2 separate regions of the Homo sapiens genome follow, and region 1 is linked to region 2. The links are contacts of gene promoters, found by promoter capture Hi-C in human tissues and cell types (Jung and others, 2019). All regions are on one chromosome and are shown on one strand. The core of a region is centred on a gene start or on the middle of the fragment in contact, and the rest is flanking DNA. Distances in the headings are between cores, read along the strand shown.

Region 1 (3,626 bases), core at 895-3,394, 150 kb before region 2:
TGAGGCAGTCAGGGGGGTAAGCAGGGGTTGGGGGACAAGTAGATAAGCTGAGCTTGGAGGAGTCTGAAAGAAATGTTCTGGTAAGCAATCCAGACTTGAGTCTCACTTCTGACACCTACCAGCTGTGTCCTAACCTCTGTTTGCATGTCTCCTCATCTGTAAATTGGGGATGATAATAGCACCTGTTGATGAAAAGACTGATGCATGGCCAGGCATGGTGGCTCACACCTGTGATCCCAGCACTGTGCCAGGCCAGGACAGGAGGATCGCTTGAGGTCAGGAGTTCAAGACCAGCCTGGCCAACATGGTGAAACCCAGTCTCTACTAAACATACAAAAATTAGGCGGGCATGGCTGGGCACGGTGGCTCACGCCTGTAATCCCAGCTACTCGGGAGGCTGAGGCAGGAGAATCGCTTGAACCCAGGAGGCGGAGGTTGCAGTGAGCTGAGATCACACCATTGTACTCCACCCTAGACAAAAAGAGCAAAACTCTGTCTCAAAAAAAAAAAAATTAAGTGGGCATAGTGATGTGCGCCTATAGTCTCAGCTACTTGGGAGGCTGAAGCAGTAGAATCATTTGAACCTGGGAAGTGGAGGTTACAGTGAGCTGAGATTGCACCGCAGCACTGCAGCCTGGGCAACAGAGCGAGACTCCATCTCAAAAAACAACAACAACAAATAGTAACAACAGCAAATATTACCTATTCATGAAAAGACTGATACATGGCTGGGCATGGTGGCTCACACCTGTAATCCCAGCCCTATGGGAGGCCAGGCAGGAGGATCACTTGAGGTCAGGAGTTCAAGACCAGCCTGAGCAACATACCAAGACCCCCATCTTTAACAACAACAGCAACAAAAAACCCTAATAGCAGGTTTAGCCTAAGACCCGACACACAGTAGGTGCCTGATGAAAGCAAGCTGTTATCATTGTTTTTGCTTTTCATTTTCTACCCTGGGCTCCTCTTAAGACTCGGTCTCTCTTGTTTCTTGGAGGTCAGGTTGCCAAACTTTTCCAGGACTCGAGTCTGGGAAGCACCGTTAACATCCTCGTAACTCGCCTCATCCTGCTCACGGAGGACCAGGTGCGGGGGACTTCCTCCCCTTCCCCTTCCCCTTCATACCAGCATGTCCTGCCGTCCCCTGGGTGGTGGGTGCCCATGCATTTCCCTCTGTCCATCCCCAGCCCACTCTGGAGATCACCCACCATGCCGGGAAGTCCCTGGACAGCTTCTGTAAGTGGCAGAAATCCATCGTGAACCACAGCGGCCATGGCAATGCCATTCCAGAGAACGGTGTGGCTAACCATGACACAGCAGTGCTCATCACACGGTGAGGGGACAGGAGAGGTCTAGGACTGGGGCTGAGAAAACAGATGGTCCAGGGAACCATGAGAGTCCAAACAGAGATCACTTCTGCTAGGGTCAGGAGGAGCAGAGAAGTTTGGGCTGCCCATGAGGGAGCCAGGGATGGGGAGGGGCTGCTTGAGAATAATGGGTAAGGGAGGTTTGGGACCATTTGGGCACCGATGCCCTCATTCACTTATTCTCCCACTCATGCATGCATGCATGCATTCATTCATTCATGTGGTCAGTCACTCCTGTATGCAGCTTCAGGTGAGAGGCAGATGGCGCCTCCAAGGCAGGACTCAACCCCCAGAGCTGGGCATGGTGGCATCAGCAGGGCTTAGGGAGACAGCCCAGCCCCCTCACTGACCCTGTCTCCTTTTACAGCTATGACATCTGCATCTACAAGAACAAACCCTGCGGCACACTAGGTACCCGAGCCCCGTAGGTTTCAGGCGCCTATGAAGGCAGTGGGCTGGGGTGAGACCTGGCAGGTGGATGGGGCCAGCCAGCACCGTCCTGAGCCTCCCAGCCCCATCCCCACATGTCCGTCTTCCCAGGCCTGGCCCCGGTGGGCGGAATGTGTGAGCGCGAGAGAAGCTGCAGCGTCAATGAGGACATTGGCCTGGCCACAGCGTTCACCATTGCCCACGAGATCGGGCACACGTGAGGCCAGGGCACACAAGAGGGGGAGGAGGGGAGGAGCTGGGCGGGTCCCTCAGCGCCCGGCAGAGCCGACACCCCTTTCCCCAGATTCGGCATGAACCATGACGGCGTGGGAAACAGCTGTGGGGCCCGTGGTCAGGACCCAGCCAAGCTCATGGCTGCCCACATTACCATGAAGACCAACCCATTCGTGTGGTCATCCTGCAGCCGTGACTACATCACCAGCTTTCTAGAGTGAGGATGCACCTGGGTGTCCCTCAGAGCGGGTCACACTCATGGTGGGGCAGGGTACACGGGAGACGATAGAAATCAGGGATGCTCCCTGGGACCCCCATCCAGCTGAGGCTCCTGAGCTCTTGATTTGCAGCCACCTAGCATGACAGTTGCTTTTCTCTCGAGGCAGCTCGGGCCTGGGGCTCTGCCTGAACAACCGGCCCCCCAGACAGGACTTTGTGTACCCGACAGTGGCACCGGGCCAAGCCTACGATGCAGATGAGCAATGCCGCTTTCAGCATGGAGTCAAATCGCGTCAGTGTAAATACGGGGTAGAGAGAGTCTTCCTGCTTTCCTTCCTGGGAGGGGAGGGGGCCGCTGGGGCTGGGGGAGGGAACTCCACCAGGGCACCCACCTGGGAAGTGAGGGGGTGGGAGAACCGGGAAGGGGGGTGAGGTGAGCCCCCATGGTGACCTGGGAGGACAGAGGTGCATGGAGTGTGCAAAATGTCCTAAGCAATCAGACAGTGCTTGGGAACAAAAATGGGATCACCTGCTTCTCCAGACCCCTGATTTGAGGGCTGGGCTGGGGGGCCAGCTTCTGTCTGGCACATCACACCCCCTGTGGGCTACAGCAGGATCAAAGTCTCAAGACCTCTCACGGGGCAGTTTTTAACTAAACATCCAGTCCTGACGGAAATAATTTCCCTGGGGATGAGCCATCTTTCCTACTTGGCAAAGAACTAGACAGAACCTTCCAGGGACTCCCTGTCTGGAGGAGCTCTGAGCCTCCTGACCTCTCCCCACCCTTTCCTGAGGTTTAGATTCCCAAAGCCCCATTCGTGCATAGAGAAGGGCATTGGGGGGCAGGAGGTTCCACTCCCAGCTCCCCCCAGGAAGCTGAAGACCTGCTGGCTTCCTGCTTCAGCCACCAAGGTTCAGCCAGGATCTGCTCCTCCTCTGCCCACCTGCCTCGATTCCCTAAATGCACCCCTAAGCTCCTCACAGTCTCAGCCCTAGGGGCCCAGGTTCAGCCCCAGTTCTTCACACTATCACAACTCAAACGATCAGAGTTTTTGTGATGCCATGTTAATGCAAAGCAGAGGGCAAGCAGCTGCCAAATTGCCCTCCCTTCATTCCACTGCAAGACAGAGACAAACCCTGGAACAATTTCTATTTCACTGACATTCCACCCTTGACACCCCCCAACATCCTAACTTAGCTGGTAACTGCAGCACCCTCTAAGGAATTCCTAAAGAATTCTGAAGCTACTCCTCAACATCTGCTGTGACCCAGGTATCCTAACAATGATCATGGTGTCTGACATTTACTGAGCTCTCACTATGGGCTAAGCATGTGCTGTGTGTCACCATCTAAACTCCTGACAATCCTGCTAGCCCC
Region 2 (3,862 bases), core at 1,254-3,753:
CCCTGCCCCCAGCAGGTGGCGGAGGTCACCTCCTCCATTCTTTCTACCAAGCAACTCCACTAACTTCTATCACAGCATAATTACCTTATGTTATGGTAATTACATAACATACATAACATACAAATATGTTAATGGCCTCTCCACTCTGCATGGAGTGCAAAAGTATAGGCTTCTAAAGAGATTTCCTTAAGACTTGTAATGAAAAAAAAAAAAAAAAGTTTTCCACAGGCCCTATCAAAAATATCCAAGTGTTGCCAGCTTCCTAAACTATCCTCTATGAAGCTAGTACTAGACTTTGAGACTTTGAGCCTCTTTCTCACAACGGCTATTTTATTCTACAATTTTCAGGTTCCAACAGTCCACATGTATTTGTAAAATGACTCAGTCACAAAATGACTATTTGAAAATGGACAGGGGAAAAGGGAAAATTTGTAATCTATTAATTTACCCTATCATCTAGCAAGGTTCTACCAGCACTCCTTCCTGCATACGGTAAATAAATTTATCTTAAAGCCCTCCAAATACCACCCTCAGAAATCCTACCAGCTTCCGTAGATAGACGCTGAAAAAGTCAAAATTAACACATTCCTTCCCAGAGTTTTCAATAGTAAAATGCTGGGAATAGAGGAAGTTTTTCTCATTTCTAAGGGCCAGTAACCATGGTATTTTATTTCTCCCTACTTAAGGAGGGAAAGAATCTGGAATTTTCTCCGGATTTATTATCTACCAATATAGCTAGCACTTAGGGAACGTTCTTAACCTAAGCGCTCAACTAGGCAGGGCGCAGTAGCTCATGCCTGTAACTTCAGCACTTTGGAAGGCCTAGGCAGGAGGATGGCTTGAACCCAGGAGTTTCAGACCAGCCTGGGCAACACCCGGAGACCTCCTCTCTTCAAAAAATTAGCCGGGCATGGTGGTGCCGCGCCTGTGATCCCAGCTACTCAGGAGGCTGAGATGGAAGGATCGATTGAGCCCAGGAGTTCGAGGCTGCAGTGATCTGTGATCGTGCCACTGCATCCCAGCTTGGGTAACAGAGGGAGACCCTGTCTCAAAGAAAAAAATTAAATATATAAGTGCTCAACCGCATTCACTTTTAATCTCCATAAACTAAGCTTCACACATTACAATATGAGGAAGGCAAAGTCACAGACAGAAAGGAAAGAAAACGGAGGGAGTTAGTATTTAATAGCTACACTTTCTGTTTCCGATGATGAAAAAGTTCTGGACATGAAGCAGTGACGGTTACAGCACACTGAGTCAGTATACTCAATGCCACTGAATTATACGCTTAAAAAATGGTTAAAATGGCAAAGTCTACGTTATGTCTATTTTACCACAATGAAATAAATGTCTGGGAAATTCAATGTGTACCCAGGCTTCCCCTTCCTTCCCGGCCGCTGATCTTGGAGCCAAAACCTCTCTGTCTCTCTTAAGTGTCTGTAATCAGAATGAATGAGTTTCACCGGGGCACAAGTCGATGCTTCCTCCTTTAAAGAAACTTTTAAAAGCCAAGGAGTCAAAGAGCCCCAAGCAGGACTCGAAAAGCTGATGAAGTCTGGAAGTAAATGAACCCGCCTCCTGACAGAACAGCTTCCCCGAAACACGGGAAAAAGGGGATTCCTCCCCCGACTTCGTATCTGTCTGCTTCCGAGGGTGAACGCTAAGCAGCAGATCCCATCTCTCCACTAATACCTGCGGCGCACCCGGGGAGGAGGAGCGGGAAACGGCGAGGGACTTGAGCCAGGGCCAGAGCGTGGGGCGAGGGGCGGTTCCGAGGGAGGCACTTCCCGCGGAGCGCGGTCGGCGCGCGGGGACTAAGGGGCGGGGCAGGAGGGGAGCCCCCCGACCCGGCTTCGCGGCCCTTCCTGACGCTTCCCTCGCTCGGTTACCGTTGACTCGGGCTGACTGCGCGCGAGGCCTCCCGGGCGCGCACCCTCTCTCCTCCCCCCACGTTACGGATCAGAAAACAGACCCCGGGAGGAGAGGGGACGGGGGGCTGAAACCCGGCCCCCGAGGTCACCCTCCCGGGGAGCGGTCGGGTAGGCCTCGGAGGCTCTCCGGTCCGGGCCCGCGCCATCAACCCCCATGCGCAGCAGCTGGGCCTGAGGCCTCGACTACGGGGTTGGCCCCGGCCTGGAGGGACTGAGGGTGGCGAGGCTCGAGGCCCGGTGTAGGGGACGATTCTGGAGGCTCCCCCGGCTCCCCGCTCACGGCCCTAGACGCCGCTACCCTGAGCAGGCGGTACGGGAACAGCCGGGGCCGAGGCCGCGCCGGGGCTAGGCCGCCAACAGACCTAACGGAGCCGCCGCCCGCGTCGGCCGCGGAGAGGAACCCTTACCCGTGGCAAAGGACCGTGGGATACTCACCCCTTAGGGCCCGGAGCCCCGTTGCCGCTCGGCACGCCGGGCGCGCCGCTCTCTTCCTCCATTTTGATCTCCGTCGCCGCCACCTCCGCCGCCGCTTCGACCCCTGCCGCCATTTTCTCCGCGTCTGGGCTTTGTGTGAGCGAACGGGCTGCACCGCGCTGCGCCTGCGCGCCCACGTGACCCGACGCAACCAGTAACACCTGCGCCCGCCGCTCCCGGCTGCCTCCTTGGCCCCACTCGCCCCGGGCCACGCCCCCGCCGCGCGCAGGCGCAGACCGGCAGCTGTTGATCGCTTCTCTCTCGAGATACACTCGCGTTAGGCACCGACTGGCTGTTCCCGGCGCGCGTCCTCTGAGTCCGATAGAGGAGGCATCTCCCCACCCCACCCCACACAAACACCTAGACCTAGTCACTCTCAGCTTTCTGTAACCAGAGCTGGAGCAGAGGGGAAGCAATGATCCTGTCTAGAGATTCCTGGAAGTTTTAGATGAAGCTTGTTCAACCCGCGGTCCGGCACACGATTCGTAAACTTTCTTAAAACATTGTGTCTTTTTGTGTGATTTTTTTCTTTTTGTAACGCAATTGCGCGGTTCTCCAGCGCGAACTTTGTAGGCAACAACGGAACGGCATGGAATAATATCAGAGTATTATCCGTAATTCGCATTATAATTGCAAACAGTTCGTCCAGAAGAAACGGAAAACTGTTAAAATTCACTAATAATGGGGCCAGGCGCGATGGCTCACTCCTGTAATCCCAGCACTTTGGGTATGGGAGGCCGAGGCGGCGGATCACCTGAGGTCAGGAGTTCGAGACCAGACTGGCCAACATGGTGAAACCGCGTCTCTACTAAAAATAAAAAAATTAGCTGGACGTGGTGGCGGGCGCCTGTAATCCCAGCTACTCGGGAGGCTGAAGCAGGAGAATCGCTTGAACCCAGGAGCCGGAGGTTGCAGTGAGCCGAGATCACGCCACTGCACCGCAGCCTGGGAGATAGACTGAGACTCCATCTCAAAAAACAAAAAGATAAGTATTGAGTACTGGGCTTAATACCTGGGTGATGAAATAATCTGTACAACAAACCTCCATGACAAGTGTTTACCTATTTAACAAACCTTCACATTTACCCCCAAACCTAAAAGTTAAAAACAAAATTAAAAAAAAAATTAATGGCTGGGCGCGGCAGCTCACGCCTGTAATCCTACCACTTTGAGAGGCCAAGGCGGGTGGATCACGAGGTCAAGAGATCAGACCATCCTGGCCAACATGATGAAACCCTGTCTCTACTAAAAATACAAAAATTAGCCGGGTGTGGTGGCAGGCGCCCATAATCCCAGCTACTGGGGAGCCTGAGGCAGGAGAATCGCTTCAACCCAGGAGGAGGAGGTTGCAGTGAGCCAAGATCGGGCCACTGCACTCCAGCCTGGTCACAGAGTGAGACCCCATCTCAAAAAAATTAAAAATAATAATAAAGAGCGAGAGGACTCTTGCAATGTTG

Evidence for each region. The method cuts DNA at HindIII sites, captures the fragments that hold promoters and counts their contacts. A contact is called where the count stands out against the background at its distance.
Region 1: a fragment that was not itself captured here is called in contact with the fragment with the promoter of HNRNPM in region 2 in 1 of the 25 tissues and cell types used here (psoas muscle).

Annotation. Positions count from the first base shown.
Region 1 is chr19:8,594,694-8,598,319 of GRCh38, reverse strand. ADAMTS10 (ADAM metallopeptidase with thrombospondin type 1 motif 10) reads left to right here. Exons shown (of 26, transcript NM_030957.4): 7 at 1,003-1,086; 8 at 1,188-1,333; 9 at 1,735-1,778; 10 at 1,908-2,013; 11 at 2,101-2,247; 12 at 2,417-2,558. Among named protein-coding and RNA genes, the nearest start is that of ADAMTS10, 14 kb to the left of the region's middle. The HindIII fragment of the contact is 8,071 bases long and covers 1-3,626 here.
Region 2 is chr19:8,443,616-8,447,477 of GRCh38, reverse strand. It overlaps HNRNPM (heterogeneous nuclear ribonucleoprotein M), which reads right to left and starts at 2,503. Exons shown (of 16, transcript NM_005968.5): 1 at 2,367-2,503. The coding sequence starts at 2,479. RefSeq lists silencers at 1,995-2,224, 2,465-2,744. The HindIII fragment of the contact is 5,541 bases long and covers 181-3,862 here.